Linked DNA regions of Homo sapiens: all the other regions are linked to region 5. Evidence: promoter capture Hi-C in 16 types of primary human blood cells and fetal thymus (Javierre and others, 2016). All regions are on one chromosome and are shown on one strand. The core of a region is centred on a gene start or on the middle of the fragment in contact, and the rest is flanking DNA. Distances in the headings are between cores, read along the strand shown.

Region 1 (3,479 bases), core at 431-2,930, 6.9 Mb after region 5:
GCCATTGGTGCAGAAAGCCTTAAATGAACATGTATGTGTATCTTATATCAATACATTTATTTGAGACTTTGCTCTTGCTTATGCCTTTAAATGTATGTATGCTAATGCTTTTTTTTTTTTTTTAATGGTGCTAACATAGCTGGTTACTTTGGTTCCTTTGGTATTCTAAACTATTTAAGTAAGTTTTCTTCTTACCTAATGTTCATTTGTTTTAATTTTATGAGTAATAAATTACTTTGAAAAATTTACATACCTTTAATATTTTAGGAGCTTCACAACTGTCTGAAATTCACCTGTGAAGTCCCAATTTCAGTATGCCTGCTCCAGGCCATGATAGTTGTCATGTATCTGTCCCAGTCTGAGCTGAGTCATGTTTCTAATTGATTACCTTTCATCTTAAATGGAAGATGTGGATGTGTCCAACTTTTCCTTGTTTATTGCTGATGCTATGCCCCTAGATAACTGCATTTTTTTTTTCAAACTGGGGATTGAAACCCATTAGTGTATTGAGAAGTCAATTTAATGGCTATAATGAGCCTTTAGAAAATGACATATCACATGGTAAAAGTATCTTTTTTTGATATTGGCTTTGTTTGTGTGTGTGTGTATATGTATTAGGTTGTGATATAAAATGTGTTTCTAACTGTGGGACTGCTCTGGAGTTGGTTGTGCCATTGTGGGTGAAGGTGGCTCAGCAAGCTGCAGGTTGTGTTTTGTAGCTGCATCTGGGATTGAGCTCATTTTTTTTTTGTAAACTCATAGAGACTCAACCATATGTTGAATTGTTCAGCACTTAACTATGTTGAAATATTCTTGAGATTATGCTCACAAGTGAGAAAATAGCATTTTAATTCGCTTTGTTGAAATCTGTTTTTTCCTGTTGAAAGTTAATGCTTAAGTTTTCTAATCATTGCTTTTTTCTGAAACTATGATAATTTGCTTTTACTTTGTATTTAGTCCCCTAATTAGCTCGAAAAAAGTTTGAAAGGGAAAGTCAATTCTTACCCAATGGAGCAGATGGTAGACTGGAGCTGGGTCCAGAATAGGGAAGCTGTACAGCTTTACATTTTTACCTTAGTCAGATTTTAAGTATGACCTCATTTGTTTGATTTATAATTTTTAAATTAGAGGCAATCTATATTCCAGTGGGTACAAAGTATTCTAAAACCAAGGGTAAATGGTTTCAATTGCTCCAGTTTCTTATAGTCTGTAAAGTGTGAAAGTAATTGAGTATTCATTATTTATACTTAACTACCTAGCTTCTTCAGGGAAGTAATTGATAGGAATTGAGAGGTGACAGAAATTAATAGGTTGGTTAGGAGAGGCTTTATAATTATCTAAAAAAACTCATTTTTAGACAACTGCTTGTTTGCTCTTTCCTTCTGTAGCATGTTAATGCAACCCTGGACCTGATCGAAGGCAGCATGACTGTTTGTACTACAAAGAAGACTTTTGATCCATATATCATCATTAGGGCCAGAGATCTGATAAAACTGTTAGCAAGGAGTGTTTCATTTGAACAGGTAAATCTAGAATTACAGAGACTTTGCTTTGTTTGCATCAGTGTTAACCTATAACATCCCACCATCAAGTTTTCATATTTGTGCTTAGGTAACAATAGCGTGGGCCTGGAAAATGAATGTAATTGTAAAAAATGTTGATAATGTCTTCTTTTTTTTTTTTTTTTTGCAAAAGGCAGTACGAATTCTTCAGGATGATGTTGCATGTGACATCATTAAAATAGGTTCTTTAGTAAGGAATAAAGAGAGATTTGTAAAACGAAGACAACGGCTTATTGGTCCCAAAGGATCTACATTGAAGGTATTTTTTAATTAGTGGAAAACTTGAGTCTCTTCCTTAATACTTTTTCAGAGTAATGAATTTTAACTTGATCTCTTGATACAGGCATTGGAACTCTTAACTAATTGTTACATTATGGTTCAGGGAAACACAGTTTCAGCCATTGGACCTTTTAGTGGCTTAAAAGAGGTGAGAACTATGTATTATCTTCGATTCATTTTCAGCAGAGAACAAATAATTTGGTTATAATATAGTTTATTGGATAATGCTTTATAATTTTATTTCTTTAGAATGTGCTTTGATTTCCCATTAGTAAATACTTTTTATGTCATATAATTCAAGGGAATCATCATATCTGGACCCTAACATGTTTTGGCCAACCTTGGCAACTATGGAGACATCCATTTCTGAATTAGATGGTCTGCACACTATTACTCCTCCCACTATAAAATTTAAATGAGCATTAAGATCTTCAGTCTGTAGCATGTATGAACATGGTATAGTTACATATGTCCAAATGACGGGAAAATTGAGCAAAAATCCAGTTATTTGCAGTAGTGTATACAGCCAGTAGAGGTCACACTCTGAAAACTTTTCTTCAAGATGTAGTTTCTTTTGTTTGAATTTTAGTATAATGTTTAATAACTTTTCATGAACATTTTCTTTAACTTCTCAAATTACATGTGGTGAGGAAATCTGTGGAGCAAATGCTGTTTCTGTTAACTCCTTTTGGTACTATTACTGTCTGGATCTGGCTTGTGAGGTTGTGCTTCCTTTCCAGGGCCTTTAATAGTAATCCTATTGGCCTTTTTTGTCATAAATTGTCTGCTCTTTTCTCATGGAGCAATAATTAAGTATATTGAATACAATTCTTACAAGAGAGTCTTGAGGTATATGGTTTTATCTTATATTACAAATGAGAAAGCTGGAACAGGAAAGTGATTTTCCTGTATGCAGTGGCAGTCCTTGTATTCCAGCCCTCTTCCTCCTAAATCACATTGCTTTAGAGTGTTGTATTAGTTCTCTGTGCTACATTTTAGCAGTAATTGAGAAACTGTATTGTATTCAAGGGAGATTGACTGCCTTTATGAAAGATGGAGAAGCCACTCAGAGCAGTTGAAGGAACTACTTAATTATTTAATTACATTATTTAATTTGGTACCCATTACCTGATTTTTGCAGTATTAATCCTCTTCTCCATAGCTCATTAAAATCCTTGTGACTAATTCATTTTTCTTTGCAAATTTCAGGTTAGAAAAGTAGTCCTTGATACTATGAAGAATATTCATCCAATTTATAACATTAAAGTGAGTGGTAATTATATATAACTGTACCAGTGATTATCATACTTCTTTTAGCTACAGAAACCTTTCTTGAAATTAAATGTTTTATGAAATTCTAATGCACAAACAGATAAAGCAGAGCTATTTTGGGTAAATTAGGGGTAGACTTCAGCCTACTTAATTCTACCCCAGTTTTGTAGGTACTTCTTAGAAGCTCTCTGTGGAGCACAGTGTGAAAACTACTGAAGGGGATACTGTAATATGTTATATAGTTGTAATCAATGAAAGTAAGCTTCACAGAATCTGTTGTAGATCATATCAATCCAGTTTTCTTAGATTATGAACCCATGTATTTAAGGATATGATCTTTCGGAAATCTGCCTTTTTCTATTAAAA
Region 2 (3,373 bases), core at 580-3,079, 6.3 Mb after region 5:
GCAGTTGACCTCAGTGCAAAAGTGCCTTCCTTCTGCTCCTGTTTTGCCCTCAGTTTTGGGCTGGTGATTCCTTACTATCTTGTTAGCATTTCAGTGCTTTTAAGATTTTTAACAAAATGTTTTTGTTAAAAAACATCTGTACTTTTAATTCTTTTCCTTTTTTTTTTTTTTTTTTTTTGAGACAGGGTCTTGCTCTTACCCAAGCTGGAGTGCAGCGGTGTGATCTCGGCTCACTGCAGCCTCCTCCTCTGGGTTCAAGCAATTCTCCTGCCTCAGCCTCCTGAGTAGCTGGGACTACAGGTGTGTGCAACCACGCCCGGCTAATTTTTTGTATTTTAGTAGAGACTGGGTTTCACCATTTTGCCCAGGCTGGTCTCTAACTCCTAAGCTCAGGCAATTCGCCTGCCTTGGACTTTCAAAGTGCTAGGATTACAGGCGTGAGCCACTGCGTCCGGCCATATTTTTCATTGGTAGAATTGATCTGCATAATCTAGTTTGTCGCTTTCAGGAATGAAAGTTTTTCACAGAGATCTTGGAATGCAATTTAATGTATAACAAATAAGATTCTCACTGATTTTATTTAATGTCAACTGCAGTAAAATATTAATACAGGTATTAACCTAAACTTGTGTTTCTCAATGTGGTCTACCTGAGAACCACCTCTCAGAAGCTGAGTTTCTTGTTTAGAATGCAGATTTTTGGGTCCCACTTCCTCAGATGTTTTTCTGCTTTATATAGATGATGAAATAGAGCCAGAAGTTGTTTGTCTTAGTTTGTAGATTGCTACAAAGTTGATGTCAGCCCAAATGATCTGACTACAACTGACTAGAAAATTAGGTCTATCTTACAACCAAGAAATACAATGTAGCCAGAATGGGCAGGTTAGAGCAGCCTTCTCTGGAGGAGTAAATGCCTCCTGTTAATGTTCTGTAAATGTTCTGTCTTGGATCCTCTTTACTAAAGTTTCATTTTAAGAATTTAAACTGTAAATGTAATGCTGCAAATGGACATTGAGGTTAGCAGTGTAGCCATTCTGTGAACACATTAAAATGTTACAAAAATTTAAATTTGGAAGTTTTAGGTTTTGTTTCTGTTTTTGACAATTGCTGGGTTTAGTAGACACTATATATTAAACCTAGCAAATCTCAGAATAAATTTGTGTATTGGAAATTATTATATAAATCTGTGTGTTGGAAAACCAAATGCAGTCATGCACCACATAAATACTTAGCCATTATATTAAAGTTGCCTATGGTATTCAATACAGTCACATGCTGTATAGGTGTGTAGCCTGGGAGCAATAGTCTATATCATAGCCTAGGTGCGTAGTAGGCTATACCATCTAGGTTTGTGTAAGTATACTCTGATGTTTGAACAACAATACAATCACCCAGAGACACATTTCTCAGAACATATAATCCACACATGACTGTAATGGTGAATGGGAAATTAGTTCTCATTACCCCCAGTCCCTTCTTTCTCATTAGGTTACTCTGGTTAGGTTTTTGGTGTTTGTTTTCAGAAAGGGTTTATTTGTATTAAAGTATGTGCGTATATGAGTGGAGATATATATATATATATATATATATATATATATATATATATATATTTCCATATCCAAAGGGGATTTCGGCATACATCCTATACCTTGCTTTAGTGTTCCTTCATATCAACTCAGATCTGTTTCATTTGTGACTGCAAAGCATTCCATTTTTGCATATTCCATTATAGTACTAAGTTTATAATAAGCTTTGTGTGCTACCCCAAAGAAGACAACGCTATGATTGTCAAGATCAGATTTAATTCCTGTAATCATGAATTTTGTCAGTTGGGAGAGACAGACCATAGGTCAAACTAATTTATAATTACAGACTGAGACATCTTATGGTGGAAAGAAAAGAAAGCTTTATAGGAGTGTGTGTACAACCAAGAAATCTTACTTAACCGGAATGTGCAGGTTGGAGAAAGCATCTCTGGGGAGTGAAACTTTGAAATGAGAGCCAAAGGATGTGCAGGACTTGTTCAGAGCTGTGGAAGAACCTTCTAGGTGAACATGGAAAGCAAAGGCATTAGATTCTTTATAATTTTTTCATGGTAGAGCTCATAAGTGAATAAATCTGGAGATGGACATATTTTGTTTTTTTAATTTTTATGTTTTTAAGAGACAGTGTCTCATTGTGTTGCCAAGGCTTGTCTTGAACTCCTGGCCTCAAGCGGTCCTTCTGCTTCGGCCTCCCAAAGTGCTGGGATTGCAGGTGTGAGCCATGGTGCCTGGCTGAGATGGACATGTTTAAGGCTTTTGATATTCCTATTGTCAGGTTGCTCTCCAGAAAAGATACGGGAACACTAGCTGGAAATAAGGATGCATGTGCACTACAGGTTTCCCTGTATTAAAAAGAAGTTATTGATGATGTGGTAGACAAACTGGAATCCTACTTGGATTTCTTTGATGTCAGAGTTCAGTATTTTTCTTATTTTTGATTAATATTCATAATTGCTAAACACTTTGTAAATGCTGACTCATTACCCAGCATCACTAGAAAAATTCATCAGTACTATTAGGAATTATTTATAACAAATACAAAATATTTACAGAGTTAGATACATTAGGAAGAATAATTTTCTTTATAATTACTCTAAAGGATAGATACTAGGTCAGTAATAATGTTTCCCCCAAATATTAGCACTTAACTGCTAAAATCAGGATGTTTTCCATTTTTAACTCTTTGTTCATAGGCATAATACGTTGCTATGAAAGTAAACACATGCAGGATTTTGTGAATTAAATATGTATTAAGATTTTAATTTTTACCAGATAACTTGATTCTATTTATTCATAATTTTTTTAGAGACAGGGTCTTGCTGTATTTCCCAGGCAGGCCTTGAACTCCTGTGCTCAAAAGATCTTCCTGTCTCTTGGGCAGCTGGGATTACAGGCTCTTGGGCAGCTGGGATTACAGGCTCGTGCCACTGTGCCTGGCTAAGATAAACTTGATTTTAACATGGATTCTATCTAAACTTGGTTTAGTTTTTTTTGGTAATCTGTAGATTACCTGTGGCATTCTACCATTTTTTTCTGCCTGGATATAACACATCTGCTTTAAGATTTGTTTTTCCAAAAGCAGTATTCTCCAGGTTCATACTAATCTTTTAGTGAGAAGGAACTTAGGATATCCTCTGGTGAGTCTTAACAGTAAACTTACTCAGGTCTGGTAACCACAAGTCTTGACAATGTCCCTAGCATATCTAGGGGAAGCTGGAGGTTGGTGGTTGTCAGTTATCTAACATGAGGTACATGTACATTTGGAGAGATAGGGAAGGCTTACCTAACATTAAGATTGGGACCTAGAGCTTTTGAAATAGTCTAAATGGC
Region 3 (3,247 bases), core at 471-2,970, 5.8 Mb after region 5:
TGACTGGAGCAGTTGTGGCCAAAGTATAGCTTCCTTGTGATGAGACACAGGAAGAGATGTCTAGACTCATGTTGTGTGCATATTTCATGGCAGTATGTGGGAAACCCCTGAGAGATTTTAGATCTTTCTTCCCACCTTGGTCCCCATCCCTCACATATCCTCACAAAGTCATAAAATTCTCATGTGGAAGGCGTGATAGAAGGAATTTTTCTTCCTGAAAAGTGTTATCAAGCTTGCAAGGGAGAGAGCTATTTTCGGAGACCTTATAGGGAAGAAATCCTAGTCCTAGAGCATCATATTCTTATACCCTGTTATTTTTACCTTTGTCGAAGATCCAGATAATGTAAATTCTCCATGATAGCAAGGACCTTGTCTGTTTTGCTCACCATTGAATCTCCAAATGTTCAATAGTTAATGAATGAAAAAAGTCTACTTCCAGATATATGACTGGAGAACAAAAGGAGTATCTGATAATGTAGTCCAAACTAAATGCAAGCAGCGAAATGATAAAGGAAGGATGTTAGCTTGGGAGAAGGGGAACAGGTCATTTAATCTGGGAAACTTTCTTGGAGGAGGTGATTCTTGAGTTAGGTTTTGGTGTGGGCTGTGTGTCTGAAGATAAGCAGTGTCTAAGGGGGTAGACAACGTGCAGCAAAGCATTTAAGTCAGACTGAATAAATTATGTCAGATAAAGCACAGTAAGTCTTTTTTTGTAACATTATGAAGAATTTTTATTCTCCCATCTCTATTTTCACCTCTCCCTAAATAAAAAGATTAACTTGCTTTGCAACAGCAGAGATTGACAGTACTTGAGTTTTGGAAGTACGATAAGGGTCAGAAAATTTGAATTGGTGTTCTGACTGAATCTTATACAAGCGTCGTTTCCATCGGCCAATCACTTGGTCTTAGTTTTCTCATTTGTAAAATCAGGATAATAATCCATGATCGTTGGGAGAACAAAGTTATATAATGCATGTGAAAGTGCATACCTCAATATGAATGTGCCTACCTCAATGTGTCACACATAGGAGGACTTCAGCAAATACAAAATTATTAAAACGTTTGTCTGCAGATCTTTAAAACATATTTTGATTCGTTTATCATGAACTCTAATATTTGCTTGACTCATCTAGATGACTCATGGCATTATGTTTAAATTGATCAGAATCAAAATTCTAGATAATTTTCTTTCAGTCAGTTTAATGTTTTCTGGTAGAAATGAGGCCTAATTGTATTACTGCTTAATGTTACAGACCACAAGGAGTGCTAGAAGCCTCAAATTTTTGAAGCTCAAAGTAAGGGATATGTGTAGCTGAAAATCTGAGCCTTTAAGCTTTTTTTCTCTACGTAATTTGTTTTTGAAGAAATTGTCTTTGCCTGTAATGTCATTTATCTATTCATTGTTGTGATGAAATAAGGGGTTTTCTGGTTGTTAAGAAAAAATTTACCAAAAATATTTTCTGTTTTTAGTGATGTGACTATAAGCCATGAAGATCTCTACCATCTGTGTTTTATTATAAAATTCAGTATTTCTTGAGCAAACAAACAGACATCTGCATTATTTCTTATCTAAGCTTTTTGTGCCAGTAGCTGTTCATTTATGAATCTCAGAATTTCATTATACTTTGTGAACTCTTTGTAGTGTTTTTGATCCATGGAGCAGTCTGTCCTTTGTATAATATTTGGAAGAGAATTTTATTATAAAAAGACTAAGAAGAGTCTTGAGCCTTTTTATTATACAAAGACTAAGAAGAGTCATCAAATGATAAGCCAGTTACCTACTAATTTCCATATTCAAAAAGGACTGAAAAAAAGAGGAAATGGTTTCAGAGCTTGACTTTTTTCAAATAAAAAGGAGAAGCTTTTTGATTTAGAGTTTTTGAAAACTTGATAGATTCAGAGGGAAATTGTTATAGGTCATATTAATAGCTAATGTGCGTCAACTGCTATATACCAGGTACTGTACTACTCTAGAAGTACTTGACATGTCATCACATTTGATCCTGACAACCACCCCGCAATCAGGCTATTTTCTTTTTTTTAAACCTGAGCAACTGACAGATTAAATAAGTGGTGGAGCCAGGATTTGAACTAAACCTGAGGCACAGAGAAGTTAAGTAGTAGGTGGTAGAGCCTACTAAAAGGATTTAAACTTGAGGTTTAACCTGACCTTTGACTTTGGAGCCTATCCTTTTAACCATCATATTATATACTGCCTTGTATAATTTATTTGCAGTTGCTCCTCTTGATACGTCTTGACCTTGTGATCTTCCTGAGTCTGTTTTAGTTGTGTCATTTACAAAATGCACTTTACTTTATAAGAAGATGGAATATAGCCTTGATTTTTTTTCTCTCATTTTACTTGTATTTGACTGACATCCTATTTTTAAATCTTAAAAATACTTAGAGTAAAGCAAATATTTATTTTATTGTTCATCCAGTTGCCATTTTCTCACTGGGGAATTTCAGAGAATTTCGGAGTAACTGGAAATTAAAGAACATAATAGATAACAGTATTTAAAGCTAAGTTGTTATAATTAAAAAATAGTTTTAAAGAATAAGGCTGATTCACAGAATTGGTATGCATTTTTTTTTAGTGTTTTTTTTTTTTTTTTTTTGAGATAGAGTCTCACTGTGTCACCTAGGCTGGAGTGCAGTAGTGTGATCTTGGCTCACTGCAACCTCTGCCTCCCGGTTTCAAGTGATTCTCATGCCTGAGCCTCCTGAGTAGCTGGGATTACGGGTGCATGCCACCATGCCCAGCTAATTTTTTGTATTTTTAGTAGAGATGGGGTTTCACCATATTGGCCAGGCTGTTCTCGAACTCCTGACGTAAAGTGATCCACCTGCCTCGTCCTCCCAAAGTGTTGAGATTACAGGCGTGAGCTACCTCCTCTGGCCTTTTTTTTTTTTCTTCTGATACAGGGTCTTGAGCTGTCACCTAGGCTGGAGTGCAGTGGCACTCACTACCATGGCTCACTGCAGCCTCGACCTCCCAGGCTCAAGTGATCCTCCTGTCTCTGCCTCCCAAGTAGCTGGGACTACAGGCGAATACCATCACACCTGGCTAATTTTTAAGTTTTTTTTTTTTTTTTTAGAAACAGAGTCTCACTATGTTGCCCAGCTTGGTCTTGAACCCCTAGCCTCAAATGATTCTCCCACCTTGGTCTCCCAAAGTGCTGGGATTATAGATGTGAGCTGCCATGCCAGGCCTATTTAGTGATATTTGAGGGACACAGATCTGTAC
Region 4 (3,327 bases), core at 549-3,048, 7.8 Mb after region 5:
AGAATAGTTTGAACGTTGCTATCCTTCTTCTCATATTCTCATATGTAAATCAAGATATAGAGCAAGCACCTTTTCTGTGCCTTGGTGAACTGACATACTCCTAAATCTGGATCAGCTTATGACTGTATTAGGTTTTTATTGTTGTATAATGACATCACAAACTTAGCTTCTTAAAACCTTCCTTTATTTTCTCACAGTTCTCTAGTTCTAAAGTCACAGTCTGCTAGGCTGAGCTTTGTGCTAAGGGTCTTACAAGGCTGACAACGAAGTGTTAGCTAGTTTGGGCTCTTATCTGGATGCTCTGGCAAAGAATCTGCTTCCAAGCTCATTCAGGGTTTTGTTTGTTCGTTTTTTGCAGAATGCAATCCACAACCTATTATTGCCTTAGGTCTGATATCCCCATTTCTTTGCTATCTGTAAACTGGAGGCCACTCTTAGCTCCTAGATGCAGCCACATTCCTCTCATGTGGCCCAGTCCATCTTCAAAGCAAGCCATGGTGCACTGAATCTTTCCCACACTTAAAATCTGTCTTCTTCCACTACTAGATGAAGAAAACTCTGATTTTGAAGTGCTTATGTGATTGGGTCAAGACCACCTACATAATCACCACATGTTAAGGTCAACTGACTTGGGACTTTAATTACATCTGCAAAATCCTTTCACAGCAGATTACTATTTGGTTGAATAACCAGGGGACAGGAATCTAGAATTCTCCTTAGCATACTTGAGACTGAGTCTCACTCTGTCGCCCAGGCTGGAGTGCAGTGGTACGATCCCAGCTCACTGCAACCTCCATCTCCCAGGTTCAAGTGATTCTCCTGCCTCAGCCTCCCAAGTAGCTGGGATTACAGGCACTCACCACCAAGCCTGGCTAATTTTTGTATTTTTACATCGTATTTTGTATTTGGTATGTTGGCCAGGCTGGTCTTAAATTCCTGACTTCAAGTGATCTGTCCACCTCGACCTCCCAAAGTGCTGAGATTACAGGCGTGAGCCACCGCGCCCGGCCACAACTTACCTTTTGCACTTTCAGTATCTTGAAATATCTGACATAACACCTAATGTCGTTTATTGACAGCTTTGTTTCTTCTGAAACATCTTCATTCTTTTTCATTACGGCCAATGTTCTCATTGACTGAGTTCTTCTGGCTGTATATCTTGGGCCTCTAGAATGTTGTGTCACCATTCTGAAGATCAGCCATCTTCTAATTACATTCAATTGCAATTCAAGTGTTATCACTTTTTTTCTTTGCTGCACTTTCACTTTTTGATTATCTATTTTATTTAAAAAATAGCATGTAAGTTTATCACTGGGAGACGAGGCAACACAACTACTCTGCTGTGCATGAACTGCTTCATTCTGATTCATTCCTTCTCTTTTTCCAGCTTGATTAAACTGAGATTTTACCTATACAATGACGTTAAATTTTTTTGGAATACATTCTTTGCACTTTTATTTCTATTACTTTAATTTTTAAAACTGCATTATTTTCTCCTGTTCTTTGCTCGTTTAAAATTCCATCTACTAATGTACAGATTTCATTTAAGGCCATATTCTGTATCTAATAATTCTGAGAAAGTTCTAATTATATATAGTCAGCAGAAATAATAAACTATAGAGTTAGAATTCCTTTCTTGTAAACAGATTTATTAGATAAAAAGTATGATGGCTATAAATGAAATCTTTAAAGAAACAGATGCTTCTTTTATTGCAAACTTATATTTTGTGAAAATGTTGAAGGAACAAAATTTTGTCAGGTAGCCAAGAGGTACAATATCATTTTCAATACATTATGAAATTCTCAGGTCAAAGTTTCTCTGACTGGCAGGGTAGGGTAGCTATGTGAAACCAAGTGTATGGGTACACATTCCCAAAGTAAATGTTGATGATAATGGCATGACTGTTATTATTTTAGTCAATTCATTTCACCTCAGGCAATAGCAGAGTCTTTCTTTTTCATCTGTTCTCTCTAAAGTAATGAAGGTTTCTCTTATCTGTCCACCCATTAATCAATCATTTATCAATCTATCTAGTTTTACTCTGCCCATCCTTTCACCAAGGATATAAACTTTATTTCAGGCATCTTGCATTTACAGTTTCAATTTGTGATGATCAGGGTCTAATCTCCCAGTATCATATGGTATCTATATTTTCCTCAGTGCACTCTCCTTTTCTGTTTTCATTTGTATCTTTGGGGTGTGTGTGCGTTAGAAGAAAGACCTGGGTATTCTGGGTATTTCCTTCACTTCCTTGGGAACACAGTAATGCATTTAAGAGTATCTTTACCTCAATTTACTTAGCATACTGATGTCCTATATCAATTAGTCTGCTATCTACAGGAACATAACCATGAAAGTGGAAGTCTCATCCAATATTTTTGGTATAGTTTTTATTTCATATTCACAATTATTTAAACAACATACAGCATTGATTTGCCTATTGTTAAACATCAAAAGAAAGGCAACAAAGTATAAGAACATAGGTTTACTATTTTATTTGTACAGCTCTGGTTAATTTATTCTCACTTCAGTATAGTGACTATATGTATTCCAAATGGGTATATTACTTTCAATTTTTCCCTATTACATATAATGCTGCAACAGGTGGAAATATTGGGATATTGGTTACTTTTGTCTTCAACCACAACAGGTATTTCTAAATTGCTTTTAAAAACATTTTTTACCAATTTACAGCCTACTAGCAGTTTAAGTGTTTTAATTGCTCCATATGCCTTTCAGAGTTGATGTCATCACCATTTAAAAAAATTTAATCATACTGAGTAGGGTAAATTGGTATTTTGTTTTTAGTTTGCATTTCTTTGAACCTAAGGGAACTTTTACAACTTTTTGGCCATTCATATTTCTTTTTGTAAGAATGAGCTGTTCTTTTACTTTATACATTTGGCAATTGTACAACTATTTTGTTAGTAATCTTTAATCAGTTATAAGAACTAAACAACTAGCACATCAGGTTATTGGTTTGTTTGTTTCTAGTATGATTTAATGAACAGAAAGTTCTATTTTTATTATGGTCGAACACATCAATCTTTTCTCTATGTTTTGTACTTTTAAGAAATTTTCCCCTTATACACAATTATGAACACATCCTCCTATATTTTTCTAGAAAGATTTGACATTTTTTACTTTTACACATTAAATCTTTAATCCATATAGGAATTAATTTTGTGTCTGAGCACAGTTTTATTATTTATGGATAATCTGTTCCACAATACTGGTTTATATTCCACTGATTATAATACAAATTTAACCACACATCAAGACATAAACGTGTAATCTGTGTGTTTCGATCTAATTCTAAACTCTAT
Region 5 (3,258 bases), core at 286-2,785:
TAAAAAAACAACAACAGTATTTACCAAGTGCTATTATAAGAGGTCCCTCTAGTGATGCTTTGCATTCAGAGAATGCTCAATGAATAAAGTTCACTAGTAAGGGTAACTTTGGGAAGTCTAGAAGGAAAGTAAAAATCCCAGAAGCCTGTTGGTGTCCATCATTCTACTTCCAAAATATGCTTGCCTGAGAAGAATCTACATTTCTTGAGGGTAGGAAAAGCTTGAGCCTACAAAAATTCAAGACACATATTAGGTACTTTAAAATAGTTTTTAAATGAAATAGTGACTATCCGAATACCATCCTAGTCCAAGATACAATCATCTGTTGTACTACTGAGGTAGTCTCCTAACTGGCCTCTCAGCTTCAGCTTTTGCCCTAGTCTATTCTTCAAATAATTCACAGTTATCTTTTCAAATGTGAATTAGGTCACTATGTTGCCTAAATAATCCCAAGGGTTTCCGTCACACTTAAAATCCAAAATCCTTCCAAGGCCTAGAAAGGCCTGTGCCATCTGGCCTCTGCTTGCCTCCCGTCCTGCACCTGCAGCCCCTCACCTGGCTAGAGCCAAGCCTAGCCTGCGGTTCCCACCGCCTGCAACCCCTCCCTGTGGCTCTGCAGCTAGTGCCTTCTCATGTTCCTGACCTCCTAAATTGAGGCAGCCTCCTTACACAATCCCTACCACATTACACTGTTTTTATTTTCTACTTCATTACCACCACTTGAAATTATCTTTATTAACTGTTGAGTAATCTTCCACCACATGCTGGCATTTATAAAACCTGTGAGAGCACTGCTCCCCTAGTTTCCCTAGCGTCAATTATTATGGAATTACTAGATGAAGGAACTCCCCTGCCCTGTTTCCTGCTTTCTTTAAATTGTGGACATACACAAGCACCCAAAGAAAGAGTGATCCTGATTCCAAAGAACATCCCCACCCCACCCCTCAACTAATCCGACCCCTCCTCGGTTTCCCAGCGGGCCGCCCCGCCTCCGCCGCCACGCACCTGGTTCTGCTGGCTTCCACCAGGGGGCTCGCTTCGTCTGCCGGGACCTTCTCCTCCGCCTCCCTTCCCGCCCCGCCTACCCCACCACCCACCTGCTTCCCACTCTGCTTCCACTAGGGGGCGCGTCTCTGAGGGCAGGGCCTCCGTCTCCGACGCTGACTTCCTCAGCGCAGCCAGCACTGTCTCCGGTGGCAAGTCGACCAGCTCCTCCCACACGGATTCTGTGTAGAAATCCACGGTATGTGCATTGGAAATGGACAGGGCATCCCTCAGGAACTGCAGCAGTCCCTGCAACTTGGCACGCAGCGTGGGCAGGTCCGGGGTCACCGGGAGAGGGCAAGAAGCCGCCATGACGCTCACCCTCCGAGGCTGTAGGTGGCGCAAACATGGCCGTGAGGCGCCAGCTCGGCCCAAATTAGCACAGGCAGGCTCAGTAGAGCTCCGAGCCGGATTCCTTCTGAGCGATTGATTGCTTCGGCTTGGTGACGTATTTTGTGGGCGTCCGTCGTGGTCTTCTGATGACGCAGTTAGTCGGCTGCAATGGCGCCGGTGAGGCGGTCCGCGAAGTGGCGGCCTGGTGGTATTGAGGCGCGTGGTGAAGGGGTTTCCACTGTCGGGTACAGGAATAAGAATGTGAGACAGAAGACATGGCGGCCTAACCACCCGCAAGCCTTCGTGGGGAGCGTTCGCGAGGGTATGTAAGAAGGCAACCATTTGCAAATCCTCAGGCTTGCTAAGTTTTAGGATATAAGATTCGCTGAAGCTTGGAAGAAGGATTTAGGAACCAGACCCGGTCCTACTTGGGGCAAGGGAATTCATTCCTGAGCCCGCTAAAGCTGTGAGCTTCGCAGAGCTCTAGATAGGAAGACGGAGCAGTGTTGCTATTATTTAAACGTCTTTTCTGACGTAACCCTGTATTTCATCAGAACTTTTTTCCTATATTTTTCCTGAGAAACTGAGCAGAGAGAGTCTATGACCCTGTGAACTCTTGCGCATGTGGTAAGGTAAAGGATAGAGAGGAGGACAGGGCCAGAAACACTGCTCCGAATTCTTCCTTATTACAAATACCCGAGGCCCTCCAGCCTTCGCTTTAATTTGTGTTTGTCATTTTGTATTGCTGTCTGTAAGGTCTCTTAGATCCCACTTGGAATATATAAATGTTAAATTCAGTCTTCCGATAATTGCTAGCTTTTCAGACAACCATACACTGTCTTTTTCTTTCGTGTTGAAACATTTTCGAAAACATGTAGTTTGTCCAAGATACTAGATGTGGCATTTTCTTTCCTATTTTTTAAGCATTTATTGAAGGCTCAGATTAAGTGTTTTAGATGAACTAAGGAATTTGTTTTGATTTGTGAATACAGCTGTAAACTCAAGTTGTGCAACAGTCTGAACTGGTCAGTTTTTCTTTGAGATTCTTACTTGGATTTCCGCATGACTGTTAGCCTGGTCTTTTTGCAAAGGGCCAACTTACTATGCAATCCATCAGCTTAAATTTGTTGCTTGAAATAATTTTTTAAAGCAAAATATAATACTAGAATCTGAATGTGATGACGTAAAAAAAGTTTTCATTTGTAATTAACAGCTCCATTCTTCGTTCAACTTCTTTTCTCTGAAAGTAATTTTGGATGATATTCCTCAATGTAGGACAAGGCTTTGCTTTTCGAAGAAAACTGAAAATACAGCAAAGTTACAAGAAATTGCTACGGAAGGAAAAGAAGGCTCAAACGTCACTGGAATCTCAATTCACAGATCGATACCCAGATAATCTGAAACATCTCTATTTAGCTGAAGAGGAAAGACATAGGAAGCAAGCAAGAAAAGTCGACCATCCTTTGTCAGAACAAGTTCACCAGCCGTTGCTTGAAGAACAGTGTAGCATTGACGAGCCTTTATTTGAAGATCAGTGTAGCTTTGACCAGCCTCAGCCAGAAGAACAATGTATTAAAACAGTAAAGTATGTATTTTCTTCATTTGAAATCCTTTAAGTGTTGTTTTATTATTTAAAAGTACTATAGGATAATTTATATAGGAATTGTATTTTTTCTTATTTAACACATTTTAGAAGTCACGGTTTAATTAGGGAAACATTTTCATGGAGGCTCTATTTTTAGCTTCAATAACTGAATTAGGCTGGTTTAGCCTAATTGACAAAGTAACGTAATGGGAATTAAGAGCTCTGGAATTTGGGTTTCTTCCTCTCAAGTACAGGTGGTAACTTGATTGGACCATATGTTATGACTATATTTTTGA
Region 6 (3,348 bases), core at 849-3,348, 7.2 Mb before region 5:
TTTTCAGCTCAGAACATCACGCTTTGAGGCAGGGTTAAAAAAAAAAAAAGGATATGGACTTGGAATTAGAAGAACTGTCTCTGTGTGACCTCTAAGACCAATATCTAGGAATCAAGTTTATAACTTGGAAACATTGAAAACATTTTGTAATTCTACCAACTTCATTGTTTGGCTGAAGCACAAATGATACTATGTGTAACAAAGCCTGCTGTAGAAACGTGGTCTCACAAAAAACAAACAAAAAAAACCATGTTTCCAAGTCTTCCTAAAGACTTTAAGTATCCAGCTGTGTAAGTTTAGTGCTCTAAGGTATACGCAAATAAGCAGATGAGAATGGAAACATATCGCAGAAAATTATTAAGTGCATGCACAACATTTATTCATTCATTCACTCATTCATTCATCACGCACATCCAGCAACTATATCAATATCCTGCAGGGCACTGTGTGGAAAACAGTGGTTAAATAAATTCAAATCTGCCCTCAGGGGATTTAGTTCCTTTTAGTATATTAATAACTAGCAAGCTGCCCCTCTTCATGTCAAAGCTTTACGTCAACAAAATAAGCGGTAGGGGATCACCTTAAACGTCACGGGTGCTGTCTCTTTAAAACGTAATAGAACTCTGATCGCATCGATCACAGGCTCACAACGCCCTTCCATTCATCGCTCTTATTCCAGTCCTGGTTACTACCCCACTTCCTGACATCAAACCAGGGAGAACGCGAGTGTTAGTTAACATGGCTTGGTGTGTGGCCACAGCTGACCCGGCGCATACCTCCCGTCCTCTCTTTACAGGGCTGGCGGTGTCTCGGGGCTCGGCTGGCCATGCCTGGAGCGCGGGGTTTGACTGGGCCGCCGTTGTTGTAGTGACCGGGAGGCGCTGCCGCTCTGGGCAGACGGTTCCGGGAGCCGCACGGTCCCCTCTCCTTCCCCATCCTCTCCCCTCCCCTCTCCGGGTTCCCCCACCCACAGGAGCCTTGGGCCGACCACTCCCCCGATGGCCTCAGCCACGGTAAGGACGGGTTGGAGGTGGGGGGGGTCCCTCCCTGGAGCCTGTCCCGCGGGCTGCGGGGCCAGGTCCGGGCCGAAGCCGCACCTGGAGGGAGATGGAGGCAGGTGTCCGTAGCCGGGTCCTGAGCCCCTCGTCCCGGGGCGTCCGTATCTCACTCTCTGCCATCGGGGCGGACGGAGTGCGGAACCCAGACCCGGCTCCCGGACGCTCTTCCCCGAGTTCCGGAGCTCCGGACTGAGCTGGGCGGCCCCACGGCCCCCAGAATTCTCGGAGGGTTTCCGTGGAGCGCCTGCGTCAGAATCACCTAGGAAGTATTAAAAAAAAAAAAAGTACCAAAGCCGAGGCGCATCCTCGCACCTGCCTGCCTTGGGCCAGCGGGCGGGGCCCGGGAACGTGCATTTCAAAGGGGCCGCGGTTCCTGCGATGCGCTGGACTCTGGGAAGCGCGAACAGAGCGTTTTGCGGGCTCTGCGGGGAGAGCTGGCGCCGGCGTCTCCCTGTAGCAGGACTGGGCGCCGCGCCCGTGGGTGGGCTGCTGCCCGGCCCCGCCGCCCAGCCAAGCCGCCGCCTGGGTGGCCATTCCCAAGCCGGACTCCGGGGAAGTGGCAGCGTGGATCCCAGCCGCCAGAATTCGAGGTCTGCGGCGGCTTTCAAAACTTGACAACTTTCCTTTCCAGGAGGACCCCGTTCTGGAGCGTTATTTCAAAGGCCACAAAGCTGCGATCACCTCCTTGGACCTCAGCCCCAACGGCAAGCAACTTGGTAAGTCTTATTCTTGTTTTGCTTTTGTAATGAGACTAAACTCCATGGGCCGGAAACCTTTCCTCCTGTCCGGGCAGGGTCCCTAGGAGAACGGCTAAGGGCCTGTATGAGGGTTGAGAGCACCCGGAGACGAGGGCCCAGCGCGGCGGGGCGCAGCTAGGGCCCCCTCTGCCATCCCGGCCCCCAGCCCCCGGCCCGGCCAAGAGCCTCCTATCCAGCGGTCTGGGCCTGGCGGACGACTTTCGCAAACTAACCACCAGGAGGAGTGAGTGGGAAGGGGAGGGGTTTCTCCTCGGCCCGGGGAGGGTGGGGTGTTGGCTGGAGAGTTTGTGAAAAGTTGTGAGCCGAGCAGGAGGAAGTAGGGAGAGAGGAGTTGGGCTGTGCCGGAGGCCGAGGACCGAGAGGGCTCAGGTGACCCCTGGAAAGCCTGGGTGGCTGGAAAGGAGCCTAGCGCCTGCATGAAAGGAAGAACCTGCTGGGAAGTACCTGAGCTCGAGCTGTGGGTTCCGCCGCCCTTCCCCTGCGTGGTGGCTTGGTGGCCGCGTCTGCGCCTCAGCCCTGAGAATCCGGATGGCGGTGAGGTGGACTTGGGCAGGCAAGAGCTGCCTGCTGCTGGCGTTTTTAACAGTGGCCTATATCTTCGTGGAGCTCTTGGTCTCTACTTTTCATGCCTCCGCAGGAGCCGGCCGTGCCAGGGAGCTGGGGTCAAGAAGGCTCTCAGACCTCCAGAAAAATACGGAGGATTTGTCTCGACCGCTTTATAAGAAGCCCCCTGCAGATTCCCGTGCACTTGGGGAGTGGGGGAAAGCCAGCAAACTCCAGCTCAACGAGGATGAACTGAAGCAGCAAGAAGAACTCATTGAGAGATACGCCATCAATATTTACCTCAGTGACAGGATTTCCCTGCATCGACACATAGAGGATAAAAGAATGTATGAGTGTAAGTCCCAGAAGTTCAACTATAGGACACTTCCTACCACCTCTGTTATCATTGCTTTCTATAACGAAGCCTGGTCGACTTTGCTCCGTACCATTCACAGTGTTTTAGAAACTTCTCCTGCAGTTCTTTTGAAAGAGATCATCTTGGTGGATGACTTGAGTGACAGAGTTTATTTGAAGACACAACTTGAAACTTACATCAGCAATCTTGATAGAGTACGCTTGATTAGGACCAATAAGCGAGAGGGGCTGGTTAGGGCCCGTCTGATTGGGGCCACTTTCGCCACTGGGGACGTCCTCACTTTCCTGGATTGTCACTGTGAGTGTAATTCCGGTTGGCTGGAACCGCTTTTGGAAAGGATTGGGAGAGATGAAACAGCAGTTGTGTGTCCTGTTATAGACACAATTGATTGGAATACTTTTGAATTCTATATGCAGATAGGGGAGCCCATGATTGGTGGGTTTGACTGGCGTTTAACATTTCAGTGGCATTCTGTCCCCAAACAGGAAAGGGACAGGCGGATATCAAGAATTGACCCCATCAGATCACCTACCATGGCTGGAGGACTGTTTGCTGTCAGCAAGAAATATTTTCAGTACCTTGGAACGTATGACACAGGAATGGAAGTGTGGGG
Region 7 (3,583 bases), core at 492-2,991, 6.9 Mb after region 5:
AACCTACTACAGAAATTGTGAAACAGGTCACATTTCCATGGTTCTATGCGAGTATAAAAATAAAGCTGGCCGAGGCGGGCGGATCACGAGGTCAGGAGATCGAGACCATCCCGGCTAAAACGGTGAAACCCCATCTCTACTAAAAATACAAAAAATTAGCCGGGCGTAGTGGCGGGCGCCTGTAGTCCCAGCTACTTGGGAGGCTGAGGCAGGAGAATGGCGTGAACCCGGGAGGCGGAGCTTGCAGTGAGCCGAGATCCCGCCACTGCACTCCAGCCTGGGCGACAGAGCGAGACTCCGTCTCAAAAAAATAAATAAATAAATAAATAAATAAATAAAATAAAGCTGTCAAGAGGGTGAGAGGAGGAGGCAGGAAGAGAAAAACTAAAATAAGATCAGTAGCGCCATCTAGTGAGAAATCCTAGCACTATCAAATCCAAGTAATCCTCTACCCTGCCCAGATACTTTAATTAAACTATTTCTAAACTTTATAAAGCTGAACTGTCAGCAACAGAATGTCGAATTTGAGTCATCTTCCATTTTATACACCAACATTTTTTCTCAATGCCAGTCTATCTCCAGTGAAGACAAAGCTAAAGTGTTGAATGAATACATCAAGAAATATCATACATTTTGTGAGGAGTTAATGGGCCTGAATCTATTTTCTTTATTCTGTACAACCTCCCATCATCAGCCAAAATCTGCAAATAGCTCGATTTTTGAAGAGAAGATGAGGATAAGTAGGAGGTTGTAATATCCACTTAAAGTAACTGTTCAGCATGAATTTAACACAGCAATTGAGTAGTTTTGAGTCCCCCAGGAAGATTTCTTGTCATGATGAAAACAGTCTTTCACCTAGCTATCAGATCCTTCTTCCATTATGATTGTTGGAAAACCAGCTTATGTAAGGATCTACCCTTTGTTCAATGCCTACTAAATACTAGTATTTTATTAGGTAATGTATACATATTTTATTTGTCAGGCCTCTGAGCCCAAGCTAAGCCATCATATCTCCTGTGACCTGCACGTATACATCCAGATGGCCTGAAGTAACTGAGGAATCACAAAAGAAGTGAAAATGCCCTGTTCCTGCCTTAACTGATGACATTACCTTGTGAAATTCCTTCTCCTGGCTCATCCTGGCTCAAAAGCTCCCCCACTGAGCACCTTGTGACTCCCACCCCTGCCAGCCAGAGAACAACCCCCTTTGACTGTAATTTTCCATTACCCAAATCCTATAAAACAGCTCCACCCCATCTCCCTTCATTGACTCTCTTTTTGAACTCAGCCTGCCTGTACCCAGGTGATAAAAAGCTTTATTGCTCACACAAAGACTGTTTGGTGGTCTCTTCACAAGGACGCAAGTGAAATTATTATTTAAGCCTTCCAACATATCTAATATCTGAACCTCAACTCTTCATCTTACTAGCTAAATGACATCAGGGGAACAACTTATTAACCTCTCTAAGTCTGTTTATTCACCTGTGGGTAATACCATTAACATCTCCTTAATAGATTTGTGGTAATAATTGAATGAGGTCTTCAGTGTAGAGAGCTAAACACTATGCCCATTTAAAAAGTGATTGCTGCTGCTCTATCTTCCCAGCCCAGGGGGTTCTTGGACATTCTCCCCGTGATGAGTGCCCCTCTTCTGAAGTGGGGGTAGAATGTAGTGGTTTCTTAAAGAGGATCACTCATGTTAGGATCACTGAGCTTGGGTTTTAATATCTGTATGTATGGGACTGGGTTTTAGAAAATGAATTTTCTCATGACCAAAATATTAGTCCTCCTTTTTTCCCTTAGATGTAAGGGGAAATTTTACAAGTAAGCTCAGTTAATTTTGGGAGGGCCATCTGTGAAATCTCAGGCATTTATGGCATAAACTCAAATGTTCTCTTCTTTCGATTTCCTGGAATGGTGAACATGGAGTGTCTTAACTTGTGTATTGAGCATGGTTTAGGAGTCTGTTGTCAATTTTACAGTCTTTTGACCTCTATATATTTGGCATGCTGAGCTTCTTGCCATTGATCTAAAGTACCAGGCCCATTCATACACATTGTATACTTTCCACACCTTGCTGAGAATTCTCTTCCCTTTCCTTTTCATCTGAAAAATTCCCACTCAGTTTTCAAGTACCAATTCACATGTCTCCAGCAGTGTGAAGCTTTACACTTCCTTTTGGCCGGATAAGTTGCTCATTCTGTCCTCCTTGCTCACATGGCACTTTGTCAGCTTCTCTAAATTGTACTAGCCAAACACTGTCATAATCCATTTACACATAAGTCTCTCCCAAAAGGTCAATTTCTGAGGGCCAGGGACCATTTCCAGCTGTATTTCTCCTCCTTCCCTGGCTCATTCCCTATTTCTCCTCACTTCCGCTTCTCCAAGATTGTATCCCAATAAAATGTTAGCTCATAAACTATTGTCTCAGGCTCTGTTTTCCAAGAATCTGGACTAAGACATATCACTAGTGCCTGTTATAGGGTAAAAGCTTAAACACTGACTAATAAATAAATGAAAGTAGGCACCCTCAAACTGACAATTATTTCTGAGTATTTAAATACCGCAATGCATAACAGTACAAGTACCACTTGTAGGCTATCTAGATTTAGCTTTCTACTCCCCTAGGTCTTGTTGGAATCCAAGGAAACTTATTTCCTGGTTAAATTTATTTGTAAATGTAAACCAAAATTGTTAGTTTATGAAGTAAATTTAGGAGAAATTCATTTTACTCTTATAATAATTTTTTGTAACTGCACCAAACTTGGTTCATCTGTAGCACCACGAATGAGATCACAGGCTTTGTAAGGCTGAGCTGGAGTAAGGGAGGTTTTCTTACACCATGTTGTTCCTTAAAACCACCTAATGTTTCAATGTAACTGCCTTGATAGAAACGTTTTTGCCTTCATACCTCATTTCAACTGATTTTTTGTGCCCCAAAACAGTCAATTATAGGTTAAGTACCGTACGTTATTGGTTTGACAAGGATGGCCAGGAAGTGACAGTAAATAAACAAAATGTAGCCAGGACAGGAAGGCAGCGTCTGAAGACAATTATGACAGATGCTCCCTAGAGAGTTGTTTCCATCATGCTGCAAATGTGAGGTAGGGTTAGGGAGCCAGAATCAGCTTGAGTAAAAATTAAAAAAAAAAAAAAAAACTCAATGGGTGGCTCTGAATGTGGCTATTGGGACTAATAATATGGATTCTGGGGGCAGAATACCCTCAGAATGGTTCATATAAGTTTACACGTTGGCCTCTCTGTTGGCCTGGGACTGACTTTTTCTCCCTCCTTGTGTAGCACCGTGCGTGGTGCCTAGTGCATGGCACACAGTAGGTTTTCAGTCGATGTTTGAGAGAATGAGAGGTTGTGGAAGCATCAGTTCTTATTGATGTTTCTGTCTGAGAGTCTTGTTTCTTCCAATTTTATAGTCCCAAAACAATTGGCTCAAATTTCATTTAAAACTCATGCTACAGCTGGAACCTGAAAATCCTTTCACTCATAAGGTTCTTTGATTTCTCACAAATGGAATAAAGTCCTATGGGAGAATAGCTGTTACAGGAATTGTTCAAAGCCTGTCCAA

Evidence for each region. Contacts are between HindIII fragments. The CHiCAGO score rates a contact against its expected background, and 5 or more counts as called.
Region 1: a fragment that was not itself captured here is called in contact with the fragment with the promoter of CCDC59 in region 5 in 1 of 17 cell types (non-activated CD4 T cells); the score reaches 5.6 in non-activated CD4 T cells.
Region 2: a fragment that was not itself captured here is called in contact with the fragment with the promoter of CCDC59 in region 5 in 1 of 17 cell types (total B cells); the score reaches 6.4 in total B cells.
Region 3: a fragment that was not itself captured here is called in contact with the fragment with the promoter of CCDC59 in region 5 in 1 of 17 cell types (total B cells); the score reaches 6.3 in total B cells.
Region 4: a contact is called between a fragment that was not itself captured here and the fragment with the promoter of CCDC59 in region 5, in 1 of 17 cell types (fetal thymus). The highest score is 10.0, in fetal thymus.
Region 6: a contact is called between the fragment with the promoter of GALNT4 here and the fragment with the promoter of CCDC59 in region 5, in 7 of 17 cell types (non-activated CD4 T cells, total CD8 T cells, naive CD4 T cells and 4 more). The highest score is 14.4, in non-activated CD4 T cells.
Region 7: a contact is called between a fragment that was not itself captured here and the fragment with the promoter of CCDC59 in region 5, in 1 of 17 cell types (total B cells). The highest score is 6.9, in total B cells.

What each region holds. Positions count from the first base shown.
Region 1 is chr12:75,504,826-75,508,304 of GRCh38, reverse strand. KRR1 (KRR1 small subunit processome component) reads left to right here. Exons shown (of 10, transcript NM_007043.7): 2 at 1-31; 3 at 1,389-1,523; 4 at 1,696-1,821; 5 at 1,906-1,989; 6 at 3,051-3,107. Among named protein-coding and RNA genes, the nearest start is that of KRR1, 5.0 kb to the left of the region's middle. The HindIII fragment of the contact is 3,394 bases long and covers 1-3,377 here.
Region 2 is chr12:76,074,786-76,078,158 of GRCh38, reverse strand. All of the region lies in intron 1 of NAP1L1 (nucleosome assembly protein 1 like 1), which reads left to right. Among named protein-coding and RNA genes, the nearest start is that of NAP1L1, 8.2 kb to the left of the region's middle. The HindIII fragment of the contact is 155 bases long and covers 1,752-1,906 here.
Region 3 is chr12:76,553,348-76,556,594 of GRCh38, reverse strand. The region is part of intron 1 of OSBPL8 (oxysterol binding protein like 8); the gene reads left to right. Among named protein-coding and RNA genes, the nearest start is that of OSBPL8, 4.8 kb to the left of the region's middle. The HindIII fragment of the contact is 287 bases long and covers 1,577-1,863 here.
Region 4 is chr12:74,544,478-74,547,804 of GRCh38, reverse strand. It overlaps ATXN7L3B (ataxin 7 like 3B), which reads right to left. Exons shown (of 1, transcript NM_001136262.2): 1 at 2,375-3,327. Among named protein-coding and RNA genes, the nearest start is that of ATXN7L3B, 8.3 kb to the right of the region's middle. The HindIII fragment of the contact is 7,760 bases long and covers 1-3,327 here.
Region 5 is chr12:82,356,664-82,359,921 of GRCh38, reverse strand. It overlaps CCDC59 (coiled-coil domain containing 59), which reads left to right and starts at 1,535. Exons shown (of 4, transcript NM_014167.5): 1 at 1,535-1,699; 2 at 2,653-2,962. The coding sequence starts at 1,546. It overlaps METTL25 (methyltransferase like 25), which reads right to left and starts at 1,393. Exons shown (of 12, transcript NM_032230.3): 1 at 1,098-1,393. The coding sequence starts at 1,356. RefSeq lists enhancers at 605-1,165, 1,096-1,655, 1,166-1,726. The HindIII fragment of the contact is 1,548 bases long and covers 223-1,770 here.
Region 6 is chr12:89,523,546-89,526,893 of GRCh38, reverse strand. It overlaps GALNT4 (polypeptide N-acetylgalactosaminyltransferase 4), which reads left to right and starts at 2,098. Exons shown (of 1, transcript NM_003774.5): 1 at 2,098-3,348. The coding sequence starts at 2,345. It overlaps POC1B-DUSP6 (POC1B-DUSP6 readthrough), which reads left to right and starts at 847. Exons shown (of 11, transcript NR_189589.1): 1 at 847-1,013; 2 at 1,690-1,774. It overlaps POC1B (POC1 centriolar protein B), which reads left to right and starts at 847. Exons shown (of 12, transcript NM_172240.3): 1 at 847-1,013; 2 at 1,690-1,774. The coding sequence starts at 999. It overlaps POC1B-GALNT4 (POC1B-GALNT4 readthrough), which reads left to right and starts at 632. Exons shown (of 3, transcript NM_001199782.1): 1 at 632-1,013; 2 at 1,690-1,774; 3 at 3,221-3,348. The coding sequence starts at 739. It also overlaps POC1B-AS1. RefSeq lists silencers at 892-1,151, 1,702-2,081 and an enhancer at 2,172-2,381. The HindIII fragment of the contact is 3,011 bases long and covers 549-3,348 here.
Region 7 is chr12:75,482,290-75,485,872 of GRCh38, reverse strand. All of the region lies in intron 2 of GLIPR1 (GLI pathogenesis related 1), which reads right to left. GLIPR1-AS1 (GLIPR1 antisense RNA 1) reads left to right here. Exons shown (of 2, transcript XR_007063373.1): 2 at 1-2,419. Among named protein-coding and RNA genes, the nearest start is that of GLIPR1, 3.3 kb to the right of the region's middle. RefSeq lists a silencer at 324-493 and an enhancer at 2,801-2,850. The HindIII fragment of the contact is 850 bases long and covers 1,317-2,166 here.